Linked DNA regions of Homo sapiens: regions 2 and 3 are each linked to region 1. The links are contacts of gene promoters, found by promoter capture Hi-C in blood cells and fetal thymus (Javierre and others, 2016). All regions are on one chromosome and are shown on one strand. The core of a region is centred on a gene start or on the middle of the fragment in contact, and the rest is flanking DNA. Distances in the headings are between cores, read along the strand shown. Region 1 holds the start of EBP (EBP cholestenol delta-isomerase). Region 2 overlaps USP11 (ubiquitin specific peptidase 11). Region 3 overlaps UBA1 (ubiquitin like modifier activating enzyme 1).

Region 1 (2,726 bases), core at 227-2,726:
TGCGCCCGGCCTACATTCTGTTTTAAGACCATGACTAAAGGCCAGGCACCGTGGCAGGTAATTCCAGTGCTTTGGGAGGCTGATGCAGGAGCAGCACCTGAGGCCAGGAATTCAAGTCCGGCCTGGGCAACACAGCGAAACTGTCTCTAAAAAAATAAGAAAATCAGTCAGGTGTGGTGACAAAGGCCTGTAGTCCCAGCTAGTAGGTAGGCTGAGGCAGGAGGATCGCTTTGAGCCCAGGACTTCAAGGCTGAAGTGAGCAGTGACCACATCACTGCCCTCCAGTCTGAGACTCTGCCTCTAAAAAAGAAGGCCGGGCGCGGTGGCTCACGCCTGTAATCCCAGCACTTTGGGAGGCCAAGACGAGTGGACCACTTGAGCTCAGGAGTTCAAGACCAGCCCGGCCAACATGGCAAAACCCCGTCTCTACTAAAAATACAAAAATTAGCCAGGTGTGGTGGCGTGCGCCTGTAGTTACAGCTACTCAGGAGGCTGAGGCAGGAGAATCGCTTGAACCTGGGAGGCAGAGGCTGCAGTGAGCCGGGGTCATGCCACTGCACTCCAGCCTGGGCAACAGAGCGAGACTCTGTCTCAAAATAAAATAAAAAAGAAAAGAAAAAGAACATGACTGAAACACAAGGCCACAGAAAGGCTGAAAGCTTGTTCCAGCCCTTTAGAAGCCATATTATGATGTGGTAGAAACAGTCCCGGTCTCAGCCCTCGGGGGTCAAAGTCTGGTGGGAGGCACATGGGAACAACACCTGATCCCAGCCCTCCCTGGTCACAGTCTGGCGAGGGAGATACAGGACCAGGCCTGGTGTCTTCCTTCAAGGGTCACAAACTGCTCACGACCACCAAACCCAGTCCTGTGCTCCGGGGTCACGGTTTGGTAAGAGACACAGGAACCAGGCGTGGTCCAGTTGCACAGGTCAGCGTCTTAAACCGTTCAACAAAAAGCTATTCCCTCCCCCACGTAGTCCTGAAAACTGCAACTGGGGGACAGAGGAAAGAAAACGAATCAGAACTACAACCCTCGGTGCCAGCGTTTGGAAAGCCAGAGCCTCCCCGCGAGAGCGTGCAACGCCGTCAACCTGCAGGGAAGAGACGGATATTGAAAGGCCGGTGTCTGGCGTGCAGCGCTAGAACGGAACACAAAGCCGGTCAATCCGAACCAGAACCCTCCAGTCCCGCTGCCCAATGAGAAGACGGATCTTCTGTCCTCTGGACAACCGTGCGGTAGCTGGGGGTCTCGCGCAGGCGCAAAAGGGCGGTGGGGGGGGCGGGTGGCAAAGGGTCTCGCGCTGGCACGCCGAGGGCTGGCCGCGTAGCCGGGGAGAGCTGGGGGAGGGAGCAGGGGCCGGGTGGAGGGCACTCACCAAGGCGCGCGACGGCAGCGGCCTCCCACGCTGGCTCCGGGCTCTCTTTAGGCTGGGTCTCGCGCTCTGTCACATCCCTAGTTCGGGCTCATCCCCTAGTGGGTTCTCTTGCCTTACGGAGCGAGCCAATGGTGAAGCGAAGAAGGCGGCCCGTGCCGCTCCCAACCAATAGACACTCTCTTTGTACCTCTAGCCCCGCCCCCGCGCGTGGCGCCATTTTCACCTGAGTTAGGTTTGGGGTGGAGACTGGGACGCGCCAAGGTTAGTGGGCGTTTTGGATCCGTAGCCAATCTGCATCGAGTCCTGGCTTCAATTTCCCCATTCCCTTATCAGTCGATCAAAACGGGGACTCATTAAGGTCTGTACCCGCTTCTTCCGCTGGTGAAATTAGCGTTGCGTTGCATCCTTTCACCTCCGCCCTTTTCTAGGTAGAGTAACCCTTAGTATAATGCAACGAAACTGTTACAAGCAGATCACACGCTATACACTGCAACCACCCCCTCCCCAGCTCTTCAGTGCTCAGAACTCCTCAGTCCTAATAGCAGCGGTCATTCTCTCTTCTCCCGACCTCAAGTCAGAAGAACTAGTTAGAACCCAGGCCTCTCAGTCCTACTGACCAATTGGCATGAAGACCCTCAATCTCCATATGCCAGTTCTAAAAAGCCAATCAAACGCCTAACCACCAGTGGGCCCCCAGATGGAGCAATCAATCAGAATCCAGACCCATCCCAGACCTCCCATCCAATTAGAACCCACAACCCTCAGTCCTAAGGATAAATAGGCACCAACCCTTCATCTCTCTTGCTTTCTCTCCTCTGTGTCCCACTCAGAGCAACCAATCAGAATGGGGATCCTTCAGTTTTCCAGCCAATCAGGCCTCCCCCACATCCAACTATGCAATCTGTCCCTGCCCTGATCAAACCAAGCAGGACCAGGATCCTGCCATCTTCAGGCTCATCATCTAATCAATCATAAACTAACCATGAACCAATCACAGTCTGCTCTCTCTTCATGGTTTCCAGCTTCCAAACCTTTATCCATGCTGTGCTCCCTTCCTCACTCATTCCTATTCCCCTCTGAGCAGTGAAGAAGAAGCCTATTGAATATTTCCTACTTTTATTTGACAATAACAAATTGTATATAAAAAGGAAGAAGGAAGGCGGGGAGGCCCTGGATCTCCCCTTCTCTGTTTCCCCAAGCATCCCCCTCTAGGCCCCAGCAGGCACCACCCCCTTCCTGCCTTGTGGTGGGGTGGGGATTGACAGGCATGAAAATGGTGTGATTTTGTGTGTGTGTGTGTGTGTGTGTGTTGAGGTGTTGGGGGTCAAGGATGGAGGGGGTCAAGGAGTA
Region 2 (2,779 bases), core at 184-2,683, 1.3 Mb after region 1:
AAACAAACCCTTCTGTGCCGGTGGCTCAATGCTCAGACCCAACCCTGCACCCCACACACCACCATCCACCCTTTGTGGCTTTACTTGCCTCCATAGCCAGTCTATGAAGTTAATTTGTTCAGTAAAGCTATAGTTAACAGTACCTTCCAATGCAAAGGTAGGCACTGCTCAACTTCTTTTTAAGAGCAGATTTTGAACAAAAAATAACATTAAAATCACGCTGTAGAGTGGTAAGCAAAACTTCCAGACCTGGTCACAGGCTGAACTTCTATAGATTTCATAGAGGACTGACATTTTACATAATTTTTCACAGAAAATTATTACCATATTGCTTCAAGTCAAAGACACTTTAAAAAAATCATTGTTAACATCTCTGAAATCAGGATGTCTCACAATCTCTGTCAGGCCAGGTGGCAGTCACAACAAAGGTGTCATGGTCTGTATCAATAACACCCAAATTATTATATTTACAGCTGGGTATTCAATTTTTTGGATGCTATCATAAATGGTATCATAAATTTTAATTTTCTAGTTTCTTGCTGCCAGTATATACAGGTACAACTGATCTTGCTAAAGTCACTTAGGTTTATTCGTGCTTCCTCAAATTTGTTGAAATGATATGAAATATGTGCTTATGGAAAAAAGTTGCTAAACAATTCTTTATTTTCTGTCTTCTAGTTTTCTCTTGTGTCTGATTTGTGTTTGAAGATGGTTCATCCCACAAAAGGAAAAAGTGAAAATTTCCAAGGAGGCTATATTATTACAGATTTGAATTTGCCTTAAAATACAAGCTTCTCCCAGAAATTAAATCAGTTGTGATGACCAAATTAATTAACTACCCTCACCCAAATCTGCCAGCTGACAAAAGACAGAAGGTGCAAATATTAATACTGATACAAGATATATGATTTGGGGTTAGTCCATGACTTCAAAATGCTTTATAAACACATATATCCTGGCCACTTAAGCAAACCCCTGTAAAATGGAAAATGGACAGCAATAAAGAACCTTGAGATGCTTTGCTCTTACTAGAGAAGCATTAACAAAGTGGAGTTTAGCAAAAATGCTTCATGATAATACCCATGACAGCAGAGACAAACCGGCTTCAACACTGAACCAACACTGGTGTGGTAATTTTTTTAATGAGGTGAAATTCACATAACATAACATTAACCATCTTAAAGTGAACAATTCAGCGGCATTTAGAACATTCACAATGTTGTACAACCACAACCTCTCCCTAGTTCCAAAATATTTCATCATCCCAAAAGAAAACCCAGTACTGGTGGGGTAATTTTAAAGCGTATTATCAAGGATGACAGGATGTCATGTCCTACCAGTGACACAATCACAAGGCTACAAAGGTAGGAAGAGGCAAGGATCAAAGCCTCAAGGCCCTTTTGAACATCTTCAAATGAGTTACAAAACACTGTGGTTATTTTGTTTATTCTCAGGATGAAATGAGGCTTTTTCTTGCTGGAAAAGTGTGACGTAATGGCAGAAAAACACGGCTTGGGTTTGTATTCCCGATTTGGAAAATCTCAACTCATCTCCCCAGTAACAGAGATACACATTTCACTGGTGTGGTTATTAAAGAACTCTGTAGTGAGTAAACCTCACTCGAAAAAGCCCTAAGGTTAGATGTGTTTGAGGAACAGCAAGAGTCCAATATGGCCGGCCTGGATGGAGACAGGGAGGGAGTGCGTAATCAGAGGAGAGATATGGGAAGACATCAGAATGCAAGCAGGAGACCAGCTTCATAAAGGCTTGCAATTCATTGTAAGGATTTTAGCATCTACGCTGCAAGAGATGGGAAGCTGTTAAGAGTATTTTGAGGAATGGCTGGACATGATACATGTTTTAAAAATAATTACTGCATATGTAAAGAGGAAAATGGTACCTTTACAGTTGAGAAAGCTGGCCAACACTACCATAACCAAGTGATCAAGGTTAACATCACCAATGATGCCATGTGGATACCATGTATTACCCGATGCGAAGATAAGGGCTCACAGTATGCATCCAGTAGAATTTTATATATATGTATTCCATATATGTATAAAGTGAAAGCTTAGACAATACATACCGCTTAGGGATGCATACAGCTGTGGTAAAACATTAAAGAAAAGGAAGAGACTGTTAACTCAAAATTCAGGATAACAGTTTCCCATGGAGCAAGGAGGGGAATTTCCATCTGGGAGGGGCACAGAAGGATTTCTTAAGACAGTGTTCTGAATCTTAACATGGATGGTGAATTCACACGTTTTTATTTATTATTTAATTTTTAAACTTTGAAATAGATTGAGAAAAATGGCAAAAATAATACAGAGAATCCCCATATGTCCTTCATCCAGATTCTCCAAATCTAATATTTTACTCATTTGCTCAATCGTTGTTTCTTTACATGCATTTTTTGGTATTTTTATTTATTTTAAAATGGACAAAAATTGCATATATTTAGAGTGTACAGCATGAAGTTTTGACTTATGTATACATTGTGGAATGACTAAGTCAAGGCAATTAACACATCCATTACGTCACATACTTATTTTTTGGGGGGTGGTAGAACATGTAAAATCTTCTCTCAGTAATTTTCAAGTATACAATGAATTTATTAACTATAGTTGTACAATAGATCTGAACTTATTTTTCTTGTCTAACTGAAATGTTGTATCCTTTGACCAACATCTCCCCAATTTTATTTCCCCTCGCCATATATAAATTTATATATGCTAATTTTTCAGGCATTTGAGAATAAACTGCTTACACGATGCGTTCT
Region 3 (2,700 bases), core at 111-2,610, 1.3 Mb after region 1:
TTGTCTGTAGTTCATCTCAAACACCAGGATGTGTCTTCCCAACTCTGAACCAAGGGCCATGTCTTCTCCCTTCAACTCCCCGGCCAGAACCCAGGAACATATCTTCTAGTTCCCCTCTGCTTCCCCCATGGTCGCAGCTCACCCAGGACTTTGATCTCCATGGGCTGATTTCCGTTGAGTTCAACCATGCCCTGTACTTCTGAAAAGGAGACAAAGTCCCCGCTCTCAAACCCGTGTCGGGCCTCATCCAGGCAGGTAACCACACCGGGGTTGTCCTGGTTAAAGGAAGAGTGAGTCTCAGAAACAGGCCCAGGGTACCAAGAGCAGACAGGAAGGACTACTGCAGCCCACCTGCCTGCCAGGAACCCTAGGGCTGGTCTCCTTACCTTGGTAACCATAGAAACCATAGCACTGAGTGGCTGCTCCCCATTGGAATCTGTGAGGATCATTTCCTCTCCAAAGTCACAGAAGAGCTGCCTGTAGAGGGAAGCAATAGGGCTGGTGCCTGTGTCCCATGCACATACAGGTCCCACGGGTCCCTCAAGATGTAGTGAAAACTTGCTGAGCAAACTCAGCCTATCACTGCTGGGATGTAAGATGGTACTTGTGCCACATGGGGAGAGATGAAAACACAGAACCCAAAACCTGGGTAGCTGAGAAGGGATGAGGGCAGGGAGAGCCTAGAGTCTTGGCCTGGGCTTGGTAGGAGTTGGGGGAAAAGGGGACAGGGAGGGAGGTGGGCTGCCACTCACCCAAACAGGCCCCGCGTGTCTGCCACCACCAGCTTGATGCCACGGTTGTGACAGAACTCACCCACTCGCAGCTGGTCCTCCAGGGGGGTGTTGGTGAGCACCACCACCTGTGGAGAGATGGAGGCTCAGGCCCAGCATTGGGGTGAAGGGGAAAAAATGGAGGGCTGGTGTGGAGGACTCAGGCAGTCCTCAAGGCAAACACATCCAGGCTTTGCTGGGTCAGCCTCTTTCACAAACACATAGCACCTACTGTGTATCAGACTCTGTGGGGGTCGAAAATGAACCCCTGGACTATACCAGGAAAGGTGAAGAGGTAGCTGGGAGGAGGGAGTTTGGAGAAGAGCTGACTCATTTATTTGACAAACACCCGCTGCTGTCTGTCTGCCATGCCCTGTGAGACACTGGAGTAAAACTCTGTCTCCAGCCAAAGTCTGAGCTCACTCCTACCACACCCACCTGCTTCCAATTCTCAAGACGACGCCTGCTCCGCCATGATCTTTGGGATTTTGCTCTCTGCCTGAATGTCCATCCTTCCCCACCAGGGTGAGCTCCTACTCCTCCATCAGGATTTAGCTGCAGTGCCCTGGCAACCTGGGATACTCCAGGGACAACTCTCAGCTTCCAGAGCACCTCTTTCCGGCCTGGACTTTTTAATTAACAAACACCCATCCAGTCCTTATATGCCAGCTGCAATTCCACGTGTTTAACCCTCACAAAAAGTCCATGAAGTCAGTGCTGCTACCACGCACTGACTACAAACAGGAAAACAAAGGTACAGGAGATGAAACAACCTGCTTGAAGTCACACTACCAAGGCTGGAGGCCTGCAGCAAGGCAGTATGGCTCTACAGTCTGTGCCCACAACCACTATGCTGTACTGTCTGTACACATCTTCCCCACTTGAAAAGGCGGGGCCAGGCCGGGTGCGGTGGCTCACACCTGTAATCCCAGCACTTTGGGAGGCGGAGGCGGGCGGATCACAAGGTCAGGAGATCGAGACCACCCTGGCTAACACAGTGAAACCCCGTCTCTACTAAAAATACAAAAAAAAATTAGCCGGGCGTGGTGGCAGGCGCCTGTAGTCCCAGCTACTCGGGAGGCTGAGGCAGGAGAATGGCGTGAACCCAGGAGGTGTAGCTTGCAGTGAGCCGAGATCGCGCCACTGCACTCTAGCTTGGGCGACAGAGCAAGACTCCGTCTCAAAAAAAAAAAAAGAAGAAAAGAAAAGGCAGGGCCAGGGGCTAACTGCTGCCTGCATACTCTAGTCCCCCAGCACAAAACCTGACATTCAGGCCGACCCATTAAATCAATATTGAACACTACTGAATAAACCAGAGATGGGCTCTGAGAAAACTGGGCAGAAGGCTGGGTAGTACCCCCAAGATACCTGGAAACCACTAAGGAAGTCCTCAACGAGGGGTCCAGTGTAGGCAGTGACAGGCACATAGCTGTTGAGCTCAGCGAGGCGGGGCTGTGATACCTCGGCCCGGTTTTTACCGATGTCCTCCTCCCGCAGGTAGAACTGTAAGGGTGTGCAGTAGGGAAAAAGATGAAATGGCTGTGGCACCGGGAACAGTGGTGCCTCGGGAAGGGGGAAAGGGGGAAGGGTGCTAGGAAGAGGTACCTGGGAGGAAAGATCAGCCCACTGGGCAGTGCCCTGGTCATGTAGGGTAACAGCCTTGACCCCACCAAGGATGATGTTCTTAGCGATCTCCACGCCCAGGCCCCGCAGGCCTGATACCAGGACACTGGATGTCTGGAGCCGCTTCATTGCCTCATGGCCCAACACATACCTGCCAGGTTAGGGGGTACTCTAGGTCAGGGCCTGCCCCACCCAACCTTATCCTCTCAATGTCCCATTCCACACCCCTCAGCCCGGCCTTGGCCCCACTTACAGCTGCCGGGAGTAAAGGCCCTCGTCTATGTCTGCTTCACTGCCGTTCTTGGCC

The links. The method cuts DNA at HindIII sites, captures the fragments that hold promoters and counts their contacts. A CHiCAGO score of 5 or more calls a contact.
Region 2: a contact is called between a fragment that was not itself captured here and the fragment with the promoter of EBP in region 1, in 1 of 17 cell types (non-activated CD4 T cells). The highest score is 5.4, in non-activated CD4 T cells.
Region 3: a contact is called between a fragment that was not itself captured here and the fragment with the promoter of EBP in region 1, in 1 of 17 cell types (neutrophils). The highest score is 5.3, in neutrophils.

The regions. Positions count from the first base shown.
Region 1 is chrX:48,520,558-48,523,283 of GRCh38, reverse strand. It overlaps EBP (EBP cholestenol delta-isomerase), which reads right to left and starts at 1,476. Exons shown (of 5, transcript NM_006579.3): 1 at 1,377-1,476. It overlaps PORCN (porcupine O-acyltransferase), which reads right to left. Exons shown (of 15, transcript NM_203475.3): 15 at 2,476-2,726. RefSeq lists silencers at 1,192-1,371, 1,432-1,661, 2,576-2,635. The HindIII fragment of the contact is 9,622 bases long and covers 662-2,726 here.
Region 2 is chrX:47,234,531-47,237,309 of GRCh38, reverse strand. The region is part of intron 1 of USP11 (ubiquitin specific peptidase 11); the gene reads right to left. Among named protein-coding and RNA genes, the nearest start is that of USP11, 2.9 kb to the right of the region's middle. The HindIII fragment of the contact is 1,279 bases long and covers 794-2,072 here.
Region 3 is chrX:47,199,053-47,201,752 of GRCh38, reverse strand. It overlaps UBA1 (ubiquitin like modifier activating enzyme 1), which reads right to left. Exons shown (of 26, transcript NM_003334.4): 3 at 2,647-2,700; 4 at 2,376-2,544; 5 at 2,139-2,273; 6 at 753-859; 7 at 387-477; 8 at 143-275. Among named protein-coding and RNA genes, the nearest start is that of INE1, 4.4 kb to the left of the region's middle. RefSeq lists an enhancer at 2,360-2,700. The HindIII fragment of the contact is 8,151 bases long and covers 1-2,700 here.